Linked DNA regions of Homo sapiens: region 2 is linked to region 1. The links are contacts of gene promoters, found by promoter capture Hi-C in blood cells and fetal thymus (Javierre and others, 2016). All regions are on one chromosome and are shown on one strand. Each heading gives the region's core, a stretch centred on a gene start or on the middle of the fragment in contact. The rest is flanking DNA. Distances are from core to core; before and after follow the strand shown.

What was found. The method cuts DNA at HindIII sites, captures the fragments that hold promoters and counts their contacts. A CHiCAGO score of 5 or more calls a contact.
Region 2: a contact is called between the fragment with the promoter of C8orf88 here and the fragment with the promoter of PIP4P2 in region 1, in 17 of 17 cell types (naive CD8 T cells, fetal thymus, monocytes and 14 more). The highest score is 11.9, in naive CD8 T cells.

Annotation. Positions count from the first base shown.
Region 1 is chr8:91,038,215-91,043,698 of GRCh38, forward strand. PIP4P2 (phosphatidylinositol-4,5-bisphosphate 4-phosphatase 2) reads right to left here and starts at 2,645. Exons shown (of 7, transcript NM_018710.3): 1 at 2,430-2,645. The coding sequence starts at 2,535. RefSeq lists a silencer at 2,667-2,866. The HindIII fragment of the contact is 15,293 bases long and covers 1-5,484 here.
Region 2 is chr8:90,982,727-90,988,210 of GRCh38, forward strand. C8orf88 (chromosome 8 open reading frame 88) reads right to left here and starts at 2,512. Exons shown (of 6, transcript NM_001190972.2): 1 at 2,388-2,512. RefSeq lists a silencer at 2,536-2,695. The HindIII fragment of the contact is 2,363 bases long and covers 1,789-4,151 here.

The DNA of each region.
Region 1 (5,484 bases), core at 1,395-3,894:
GAAATGGACTATTTCATCTTGGAGGTGGGAACTAACATTCCTGTACTTTAGAAGGTAAAAGAAAGAGAAAGGGGTCAGATTGGAGAAAATATTCACTAGTTATAGCTTTTAACTTCTTTTTTTAAAAAAATAAAAGTCTGAATAATTGTAAATGGGATCATTAACTAAAATTCATTATCAGAAAGTGCATTCTGTTTCTGATTGAATTCCAACTGTCAACCCTAACGGTTTTCAACTACCAAAAACATCTGATCTAGTGATAGAATTTTTTTTACAATCTGAAATAATTCAGCCATGTATTTATTTATTCTTTCTCCCTAATACAATATAGTCTTCATGAGGGTATGGGATTGATCACTCTTGTTCCCCTAGAGCAGTGTATGGCACATTGTGCTTCCCAATAAATTAATAAATGAATGAATAGTGGTGGTCTTCCAGATCTTGTGTATTACTCATAATATTTATTACAATGTTTGTTACTTATGAAGAAAAATATTCTGTCAAAATGCAAATAAAATGCTTTTACCTCTCATTTATGCTTCTTCCTTAGTAGGTGTTATGTCATATGAAATTAAGAGTTTCTCTAATCATCTAACCTGTCTCATTCACCAATTAAGAAAAAATGTATTCTACCATAAGGCAGAAGCAGCTTTTTGCTAAGTCATTGAATTTCTCTGGTTGTTAAAAGTTTTCTACAATGACACTACTTTTTCTCAGTGGCTGAACTGGAACTTATACTTGTGTAGTTTGAGGAATCTTATTAGGTTAAACAAATATATGGAAAATAATAAAGATGTCTATAAGCTGATCCCTGAGTGTAGCCATTTTTAAAAAATAACTTATCCACTAGTTGAGGGCATGAAAATAGGTTATAGGACAAATACTTAAATTGAAACTTTGTCTCCTAATAAACCGCCAAACATTTTGCCATAAAAGGCTGACTTGATGAAGTTGAAACATTCATTAGTGAGTGTTTAAGTCTATTCTACATAATACGATTTAGATAACAGTAAAATATTCATATCAAATTGGCCCATTAGAGGAAATTCTCTTGCCTGGTGTCCTCTGATACAAGTTTAATGCTGACCAACAAAAATGACCTGTAGGTTTTCTGTGGGCAAGTCTCTCTCTGTGCCTTATTTCTCAAGCCATGGCTCACACTGAATTATTTACAGCTAAGCATCTTTTTCCTTTGTTTTTCTTCTTGTTAAGTATGGATTAAGATCTAGATAGTTTATTTTGAAGTTACAAAATGTTAAATAGAAATTTTAAATACTAAGCAAGTTCAACCTGCTCTACATCAGCTCTAATTCCAGACTTGAACTTAAAAACTTGTATTACAAGAAACATTACCTACTTATATTTTCAAAATCATTAACTTTTGCTTCCTTGGGTTTTTAAACTTTGCTCATATTTAGCCAAAAAAAGAGAGAGATGCACTTAAGGAACATTTGCAAGTGCCATTTTGACCAATCTTTTCACTAACCTAAGTGGGTTTTTTTAAGTCTTGCCTTCCATTTTCTTGTAACGCCTGACTCCACCTTATTTATTTACTATAGTAATCAACTAAAAGGCTTAGAACAACGATCGATTTTTAAATAAATCGAATAGTATGGTAAATAGATTCCATATTTCTCCAGATCCCATTGCATTTAATCTTTTTTTATTCTTCTTGAGAAAAAAATAGAAATATATGTATTATTAATTTGGGTTACTTTTTACAAGTTAATTTCAATCTCACCCAGATATGTGTTAAAAATATCCCATCTTCCCTTCTATGAGAAGTAAGGTCCTTCCTTCTCATTCACAATTAAATCTAACACATACTCCTTGAAAGTAGGAGTAAAAAGGAGGGGCAGGAATTTCAGACATATTAGGAATATTGATTAACTGTATTCATTTTGGATATGGCAATTCACTGAGTGAACAGAGCACTGTTGGGTGAATGGTAGCAGAAGCATATTGTTCAAGCTAAAGCCCTTTCAAGGACAGATGCCAAGGTGAGCAATACTCCTGGTTTCTCAGCAACGGAAAAAGATTTGTGAATGATTGTGAAAGATTTGCACCACCTCCTAGCTGCGCTTAGGGGCTGTTCTGAAAACAGCTAAGCAGAGCTTGGGAAATTCATGTCACATACTGTAGCCCTGGGTAAGAAGTGGTGAAATACACACACACACCATCACCACCACCACCACCACCACCATCACCACCACCACCACCACCACCATCACCACCACCACCAGAAAAACCCTGCGGAGAAGCTATCAGGCAGGCGGGCTTGCCTGGGAAGGCACAGTCAGCATCCTTCCTCAGCCCAAGCGAGAGGCTCACCTCCACCTCCAAGCTAGAGCTCCCAGGTCTTTATCCTTCTGGGCGTTTCCTTGCAAATCTACTTCCTTGCAAAGTAGAGGGATCTACGCTGGCCTTACCTCTGGGGCTGCTTTCTTGCAAGTACGGTGGGGCGGTGGGAGTGACATTTCCGGAGTGGGATGCTGACAGCAGAGGCGAGCGTTCGTCCACCCCATCAGCAGCCATGACTGCGGCAGCGGCGGGGCCTGGGGAGGCCGAGCCGGGGTTGCGGCCTCGGCGGAGTGGTGGCTACTGCTGCTGCCTCTGCTGCCGCTGCTGCCGCTGCAGCTGCTGCTGCTGCCGCCTCCGGGAGGGCCCGGGATGTGTCACAAGGCAGGAAGCGGGGGGAGGGGAGGGGAGGGTGCAGGACCAGGAGGCGGGGGAAGGGAAGCGCGCTGGGAGGCATGGCTGGGGGAGGGGAGGGGAGGGAGAAAGAAAGAACCCGCAGAGTGGGAGGAGCAGCAGTGGAGGAGCGGGAGCCCAGCCAGCCAGAGAAAAGGGGAACAAATTAGGACCAACTGGGAAACGCGAGGAAAAGAAGATGCCAAGTAACTGAAAGGGGGTCGAGAGTAAATGGGATGGAGGGGGACAAGTCCTTTGCTCTAGGAAAGACGGATAAAAAGCAGCCTGAAAGGGGCTAGCGAAGAGGAAAGGCCTGTGACTTGATTACAAGAAAACTGGAGCAAAAGCAGATTATCAAGTTTATCTCCCCTAAGGAGGAGGAGGGACTGACTCTTTGCTGTCAAACTTTGCAGCAGTTATATAAAGAAAACATCTTCCTGGGGTTATCAATTCCTCTAGGGTTTTTTTGTGGGAAATCAGTTTTCAACATCTGTTATCTAAGAGAAAGTAGATCTTTGCGGAAGTGTCAGCATTCCCTACTTTTCCTGATTGATTTTTTTTAACAACAGGAATGTTGGCCTGACCGGTTTGGAACTCTGGTAACAGTACCTTTTTGGAACTATGCAGTGTGTTGCCTTTTACAAGTTTCATTTTACAAAATAGGTTGTCATCTTAGTTTTGGTTTTGTAGCCTATTGTCCCTGACACATATACAGTAAGTAGGTTTATGAATAACGTCAAACAACGAAAAACAAGTTTCTTGAGACAAAAGTTTTAAAATAATCGTTTACTTGTAAAACAGAGTTAAAACACAAAAAACCCTAAGCACTGACAAAGATTCTTTGCTTGGTCAAACAAGTAAGGTTTCTGAATCTTATGCTGGGCCCATCTGCACTTCCTTATAAAATCCAGTTTTAGCAAAGAACCCTACTAACTTAATTTAGCAAGAAGCCCCATTCTCAATATTGATATTTGATCAGGTTCCTCATCCTCCAGCATCCCCCATGTGAGGCCTGAACTCCTGTTCTGTCTTCAGCAAGAATCCCGTTTGCTTGGTTTAGTCAGAATCCCCCTTATCCCTGATATTTCCTTGGTAATTTTCCATCTACTGCCCCTGTCCTGCATGCTCCTAGGCTATAAATTCCCACTTGTCCATGCTGCATTCAGAATTGAGCCTAATCTCTTCTTCAACATGGCAAGACCCTGCTGCCATGGTCCCTATACCTATCACTATAGCCCTAAATACAGTCTTCCTTACCATGCTTTGACAAGAATCACTGAATAACTTTTTTCTTTAAAAACACAGTTCTTGCCATGTTTTATATGTTTTTCTTTTCTTTTTTATTTGGTGGTTTGTCATATTATCCAAAAGTAGTTTACATGAATATGAAAACAAATTAAAGTTTTGAGGCCAGGCGTGGTGGCTCACGCCTGTAATCCCAGCACTTTGGGAGTCCAAGGCAGGCAGATCACCTGAGGTCAGGAGTTCGAGATCAGCCTAACCAACATGGAGAAACCCCATCTCTACTAAAAATACAAAATTAGCGAGGCGTGCTGGCGCATGCCTGTAATCCCAGCTACTCGGGAGGCCGAGGCAGGAGAATCACTTGAATCCGGGAGGCAGAGGTAGAGGTGAGCTGAGATCGTGCCGTTGCACTCCAGCCTGGGCAACAAGAGTGAAACTCCGTCTCAAAAAAAAAAAAATAAATAAAGTTTTGAACATGTCTAAATAAAAATGCAATAGAAAAATAGTAATGATCTAGGATGATAATTTTTCTGCAATAATTTTTGAGTCACTCAAAAGAAACATTTATTACTCATTTACTAAGTCTAAAAGATAACTACGACATGATCTCAATCCTCAAGATGCCTGAGAGAGTCAAAAACAAGTGGAAAATGAGGCTAGCTGTAGATTTCAGTGAGCATGAGGCAAAGCAGAAGTTAGACATACGAAACTATGTTTCAAATTACATTAGGAAGGATCCTCACTCTGCTTTCTAAAGATACATTCTTTCTTCCAGAAAAATCCACTTAGGCATCAGCTGGAAATCCTAAGGGGAAATCAAATAATGATGTTTGCACTCACGCAGCATCTTTTGTGGATCAGTAGCATCAGGATACAATACAATATAAGGATCCCTATATGATATAAGGGCATTTCTAGGTCTCCAGGAACCTGGAAAGTACAGAATCAAGATGTAGCACTTCCTGCAAAAGTGCCTGTAATTTACAAAAATGAACAGCAGTGTTTTTATAACTGCAGCCTGGAGACTATTGAGTTAAAGAAAATTATGAGAAAAATCAACAAAATCTTACTACTATAGTATTCTGTCGTGTTACCTGTCACACTCCATTGTGACAACTCCAGCCCCAACCAAATTTCTGAGGTCAGAAACCTATCTATCTTATTTATAACTAGATCTCCAGTATCTAGCACAATGCTTGGCACATTAGTAAACACTCGATATTTGTCAAATAAACAATTGAGTGAATGAACAAATATACACAGTCCCAGAATCTTACTAAAACAAAATGTTTGGCACAAAAAGATTAAGAACATTTCTTGGCATTTTGATGAAGATGACAGTTTTGCCATCTGACTGATCAATTTTTTTATTCCATCATACCTCTACAACTGTCTTCTTTTTTGCCCATGTAGTGATCAGTATAAAGGTTTTTTTTTTGTTGTTGTTTGTTTTTTTCTTTACTTCATTATATGGTTTCTCTACTGCAGAACTCATTTGAGGCTCATGACAGTTACTCTTCTTACACTACAAAAGGTAGTAGATATACT
Region 2 (5,484 bases), core at 1,262-3,761, 56 kb before region 1:
TTAGAAAAGATGGTGTCATTCAGTACTCTGTTTAATATTTTTTTTTAAAGTAAACGATGCCTGCAGGGAAACACTGACATTATAGGGGACAAGTTTGGGATTACAATGCATAGTACATTCCACCATCATGTTATTAATGAAAAAGGTTAAGTATTTATAAAAAGTAATTATTATTGTAAAACTGAGTCACGAGATTATAATTAAGGCAGAACTCCATAAACCAAAACCTAATTCTCAGTTTAGTTAAAAATAATAAAGACTTAACTGCACTACAAAGTCATTATACAAAACAAATTCAGTCTTAAACTCTAATGCCTGCTTCATCCATGGAATGTAGAGATCAAAAAGTTTCCCTTGAAGCTACTGGTGCTACCTAGAGTAGCCATGTATCATATCAACGATTCAAAGCACAGTTACAAAATAAACAGAATTCTGCCTACAACATTGGGTAGCAAGTAGTGGGCCTATCATAAGGTTGTAAAATGTAAATTTAAAAATGTAAATGTATAGTTTTGTGGTATAAATGTTTTTTAAAGGATATTTTGATCCAATGTCTCCAAAAAAACTTTCTATTAATACATACTGAGAAATGGTTGCTGAATAGTTTTTTTCAAGATCACACACACTTAACAAATCATCTTTAAAGACCAAGTTGTATGAATAGAATATTGGTAAATCAGTTAGTTATTTACAGTTGCTATTCTACACCTGGCAATACTAACTATATCTTAGGTTCCTTTTCTTTTTAAAAAATTTACCTAAGTATGAATCTTCAGGCCTTATCAGTCCTGATATTACCAGTAAACCTAGAATTGTCTAAAATACAATGGGATAATAAGCAGATACATTGACCACTTTGGCCAAAATCTTATTAATCTTATTTTTTAATTAAGATGCCTTTTTAAGGTCCTACTACATACTAAATATAATTTCATTTAATTTTGAGCCATATATGAACGGTGGAAGAAAATTATTATTAGTCCCACTTCACAGATAAGAAACCTGAGGCTCAGAAAAATAAGAGACATGCCCAAGTCCACATAGCTACTAAGTGCTAGATATTAGGATTTGACTACAAAGTTCACACCTTTATATCAAAACTTGCCTATTTGTTACATAAAAGAAAGATATCTGACTGTCCATTTATTACATGTGGACACTGCGTGTATAGATTTAAAAATTAATGTGAAAAGTAACATTTATTTATAAGGCCATGCAGAATAAATTGGTATATGCTAATAATATCCATTTCTTCAATTTACCATTTTTCTTAGAATACTAAATAAATTAGGGAGTACTGTGCTTTCCTCACGCTACAGACATGGTATACTGCCATACTAACCATAGATCACAGCATATGAAATATACTATGCACTGTTTTTAGAAGCTGAGTACTATACTTAAACTCCAATATAAATTCTAGTCTTCTTTGGAAAGTACTGATGCTACCGCTGCCGTTGAGAAATAAGATCATATAAAGTGAAATAATGAAATGAAAAGACCATATTTGAATTTACCTTGTGTATAATTCCCATATGATAACCAGATAAAATTTCATCTCAATTTCCAACTTCAAAACATTACAAAGTTAGGATTCCTTGAAACCCAATACTGCTTGTAAGTAAACTGCTCACACTGACAAAATGATAGATGAAGAGAAACATACAGGAAACATCGGGGAGTAAGAAATAAACCACCTATGACTCAAGTGGTGAAAGACATTTCACGTTCCATATATCTGGTTGCACTATTAAGGAAAAATTAAAACGAAAATATCAAAAAACTAGAAGCTTGGAGAGTTCCAACATATCTTCCATTTCATGCCTTCTCTTTATAACTAATTTAATTTTTTTTTTGGTCTATTTGAGGGATTTCTCAAAACAAAACACAATTTAACATTCGGATGGGCTAAAGCTGTCCAGGTAATAGGTGTCTGTGATTACTTTAGTCATGTAACTGTCCTTTCCGTAGCTTTGACTAAAACACCAGCAATGAAAACCTTGTGCCACCGGGTGGAGGGGGCAAATCGTCTTGAAAGCCTCCCACCGCCTGGCACCAGGTGCTGGGGCAGAGCCAAGGGGAGCTGTGTACTTAGCTCCTTTTTTGGCGATGGCTTTGGTCTCGGCCACTTGCCCCTCCGTCGGGCTCCCCTGGCCCCCTACACTTTCTTTCCCCTCATCCGACGCTCTCGCTCCCATCCCACTCCCATTCAGGGTCCACAGGGTACTGAAGGGGCCCTGAGAGATTTCCCGACCCACCTCAGAGCTTCTCTTCCTCGCCTCAACTTTCCCGGGGTCGGGCCTGGGAGACGGCGCCCACCCGCCTCCTCCACACCACGGGGCCCGACTTCCGTCCCCCAGTGTCGCTCATCCTCCCTAGCCACTTACCGACTCAAAATCCACGGGGATTTCGGGGCAGCAGCGTCGCCGCGCTCAGCCCACACGCGGAGGCCGAGCGCCCTGCTGCCCGTCGGGGAACGGCTCCTGCCGCTGGTCCGCTGGCTGACCGCGGTGGCGGCGGCGGGGGGCGAGGGGCGGGGGGCGAGGGGCGGGGGGCGGGGCGGGAGGCGGCTCCGAGGGGCACGAGGCGGGCCCAGGGCGGGCGCGGGGCGTGGCCTCGGGCGCTGAGCCTCGAGAGCAGCCGCACCCCTGCCGGGGTAGAACCGTTAAAAGGGTGGCGCGCGCTTTCCCGGGCGAGCTGGGCGCGTGGGGTTGGAGCGGCGCCACCCAGAGCCGGTCGTCTAGGGTAGGAGGCCGCGAGTGAGGCGCTGACAGGCTAGCCCTCGACGGGGCGCGCCCGCGTGAACGGCCTTGGGGGCCCCAGACCGTGGCCCTGCTTGTGCGAAGACTGGGAGGCGCCAGGCGGGCCGCCTGCTGGGGGCTTGGCGGCGGGTTCCAGGCAGCGTCTGTGAGGGAGGCCGCCTCTGTGAGGGAGGCCGCCGTCGTGCTGACGACTGAGTCCACCCTACTCCTGTCCCCCGTCAGAGCTGCTGGCAGGCGCTGCTTTCCCCTTGGTGCATTTAGTGGGTGTCGGGATTCGGGTTGGCAGGGAGGAAGATGTTTGAGACCTGGTTTACCTCAGACCAGGGATACAGCGTTTCACACAGACTGCCATCCTGAAAGGAACAAAATGAATTAAGGCAACTCCATCCGAATCATTTCTTTTTAATCTTCACCTTCAATCCTTTTGCTAATTTTTCATTATCTTTGAGTGTCCCCAGAGGGGGACTGTCTGCTTGTACTGAGGGACGTGGAGGTGGCAGTCCCTCACGTCCCCAAGCACCAAAAGGACAGTTGAAAATGCACTGGCAAACACTGAACGGTTTTAAGTGGGGCACTATCAGGATTTACCATTTTGGAAGGTATGAAGTTTCACAAGCACTTCCATGTATAGTCAAGTTATTGGAGCTGTCTCCGTTTAGAAATGGCTTCCAGAAACACTCCTACTATCCACTGAGACAACTCGCCTGGCATCAGAGACCTAGGGTCCAGGGTCAGAGATGGGTCATGATAAAAGGGCATCCCTTGGGGTGAGGCACCAGAAGTCTGCACAGTGGAATCAATATATTCCAACCACCAGATGTAGAAAATCTTAAGTGCAGGATGTGGTTCTCATCCATCTAGTCACAACAGAAGTTTTCTTCTTCAGGAATATACTTAACAATGAAGCATGTATAATTTTATATACATCTTACAATAAAATTATTTTGTGCATATCACTGTATGAAGTCAGTAGAAACTATTGTGACAAAAATGTAAATTGGAAGAATTCCAATTCAGATCAGTATTAGTAATTTATTGAGAGGAAGAGAGAAATTAGACTAGACAGACTCCTTGATTTTTTGATAATTGAGGAAGAAAAATGAACCATATAAACATATCGAAACTTTTCAAAATCTTATTGATAATGACATAAAATTTTGGCATCTACAAGGATAATCTAGAATTCATACCTTTACAACAAGAACTTGACAACAAACAGGTTAATGACTTTTAGCAACTTAAAGGTTAGTCACTGCCTGAGAAAACTTGAAGTGCCCTGAAATCACAGAGTTCACCTAAGAACCTTAAGATGAGTTTCCCCAAATTTAGCAATACTAAAAATTGGCATTATTACCAATAACAAATTGTGAAACTGCAATAACTTTTTTAAGCTTTCAATAACAAAAAATACATGTTGACTAACTTTGCTTTGAAAAGACTACCACATTATTCATTATCACCAGGGAAAGTGCATTACAAAATTACTGTCAAATGATGAGGCAATAAAAAAATGAAAACTAAAAATATAGGAAAAACATAGCAATGGTTCAGGTAGTTAATTTAAAATATCATTTTACTGAATTTCTAAAATATTTGTGGTATTTATCATCTTTTTAAAAATCTGTAATTTGTTGTCACTGATTTTCTTATTCTAAGTAAATATTTACTTTGGTCACCGCCCCCCATCCCTGCTTCCTGCCCTGCTCTGGCCACTCAAAGAATTGGAGAATGGATTGAGAAAAAGCAACAGTGGAAATAGATATCCCAGTTAGAAGGATAATAATTTATAATGTGTCTTACTACTTATAAGTAGAGGTTTTATTTAAACTTATATTTTCATATTTTATTTAACTCCACTTTCACAGTACCTAGAACTACACACACACACATACAAACTGGTTACTTGATCTCATGGTATGTGCTGTTTAGTGAGGGTGCAGATATGCAAACAGACAATTTCAACTCAGTAAATTAATTGTTAAATCTGGGTGGTGCCACTGAAAGCCTGGCAACTCAGAAAGCTGAAGAGGTAGCATTATCTCATGTTTACCAAATGATTTCCTTGCCAACCTCCTGCCAATAGTCGCCTTTTATTCATTTATTCCTCAAACATTTACGAAGCATTTTATGAAGGATACACTAACAAACACACAACACAGATGCTCATAATTATTATAGGAATGTGTTAAAACAGTGGTCCCCAACATTGTTAGCACCAGGGGCTGGTTTCGTGGATGACTGGAAGGGCGGGGTATGGTTTTGGGATGAAACTGTTTCACCTCAGATCATCAGGCATTAGATTCTTATAAGGAGCACACGACCTAGATCCCTCGCATGTGCAGTTTACAATAGGGTTCACACTCCTATGGGCCACTGTTGATCTGACAGGCAGCAGAGCTCAGGCAGTAATGCCAGCAATGGGGAGGGGCTGTAAATGCAGATGAAGCTTCAGTCACTCACCTGCCACTCACCTCCTGCTGTGTGGCTTGTTTCCTAACAGGCCAATGACCAGTACCAGTCTGGGGTCTGGGGGAGGGCAGTGGTTAGAAACCCCTGTGTTAAAAGCTATAATAATGACTTAGTTTCATTCAGCTCAGTTCAGCTCAGCAAAGGTTTTGAAGACCTATGTTTATGTGCTAGAAACTGAGGATACAAAGACAAACTGAAATACGACGAGAAAGGCTGATACACACTGAGGTTACAAAGAAAAACTGAAATATGA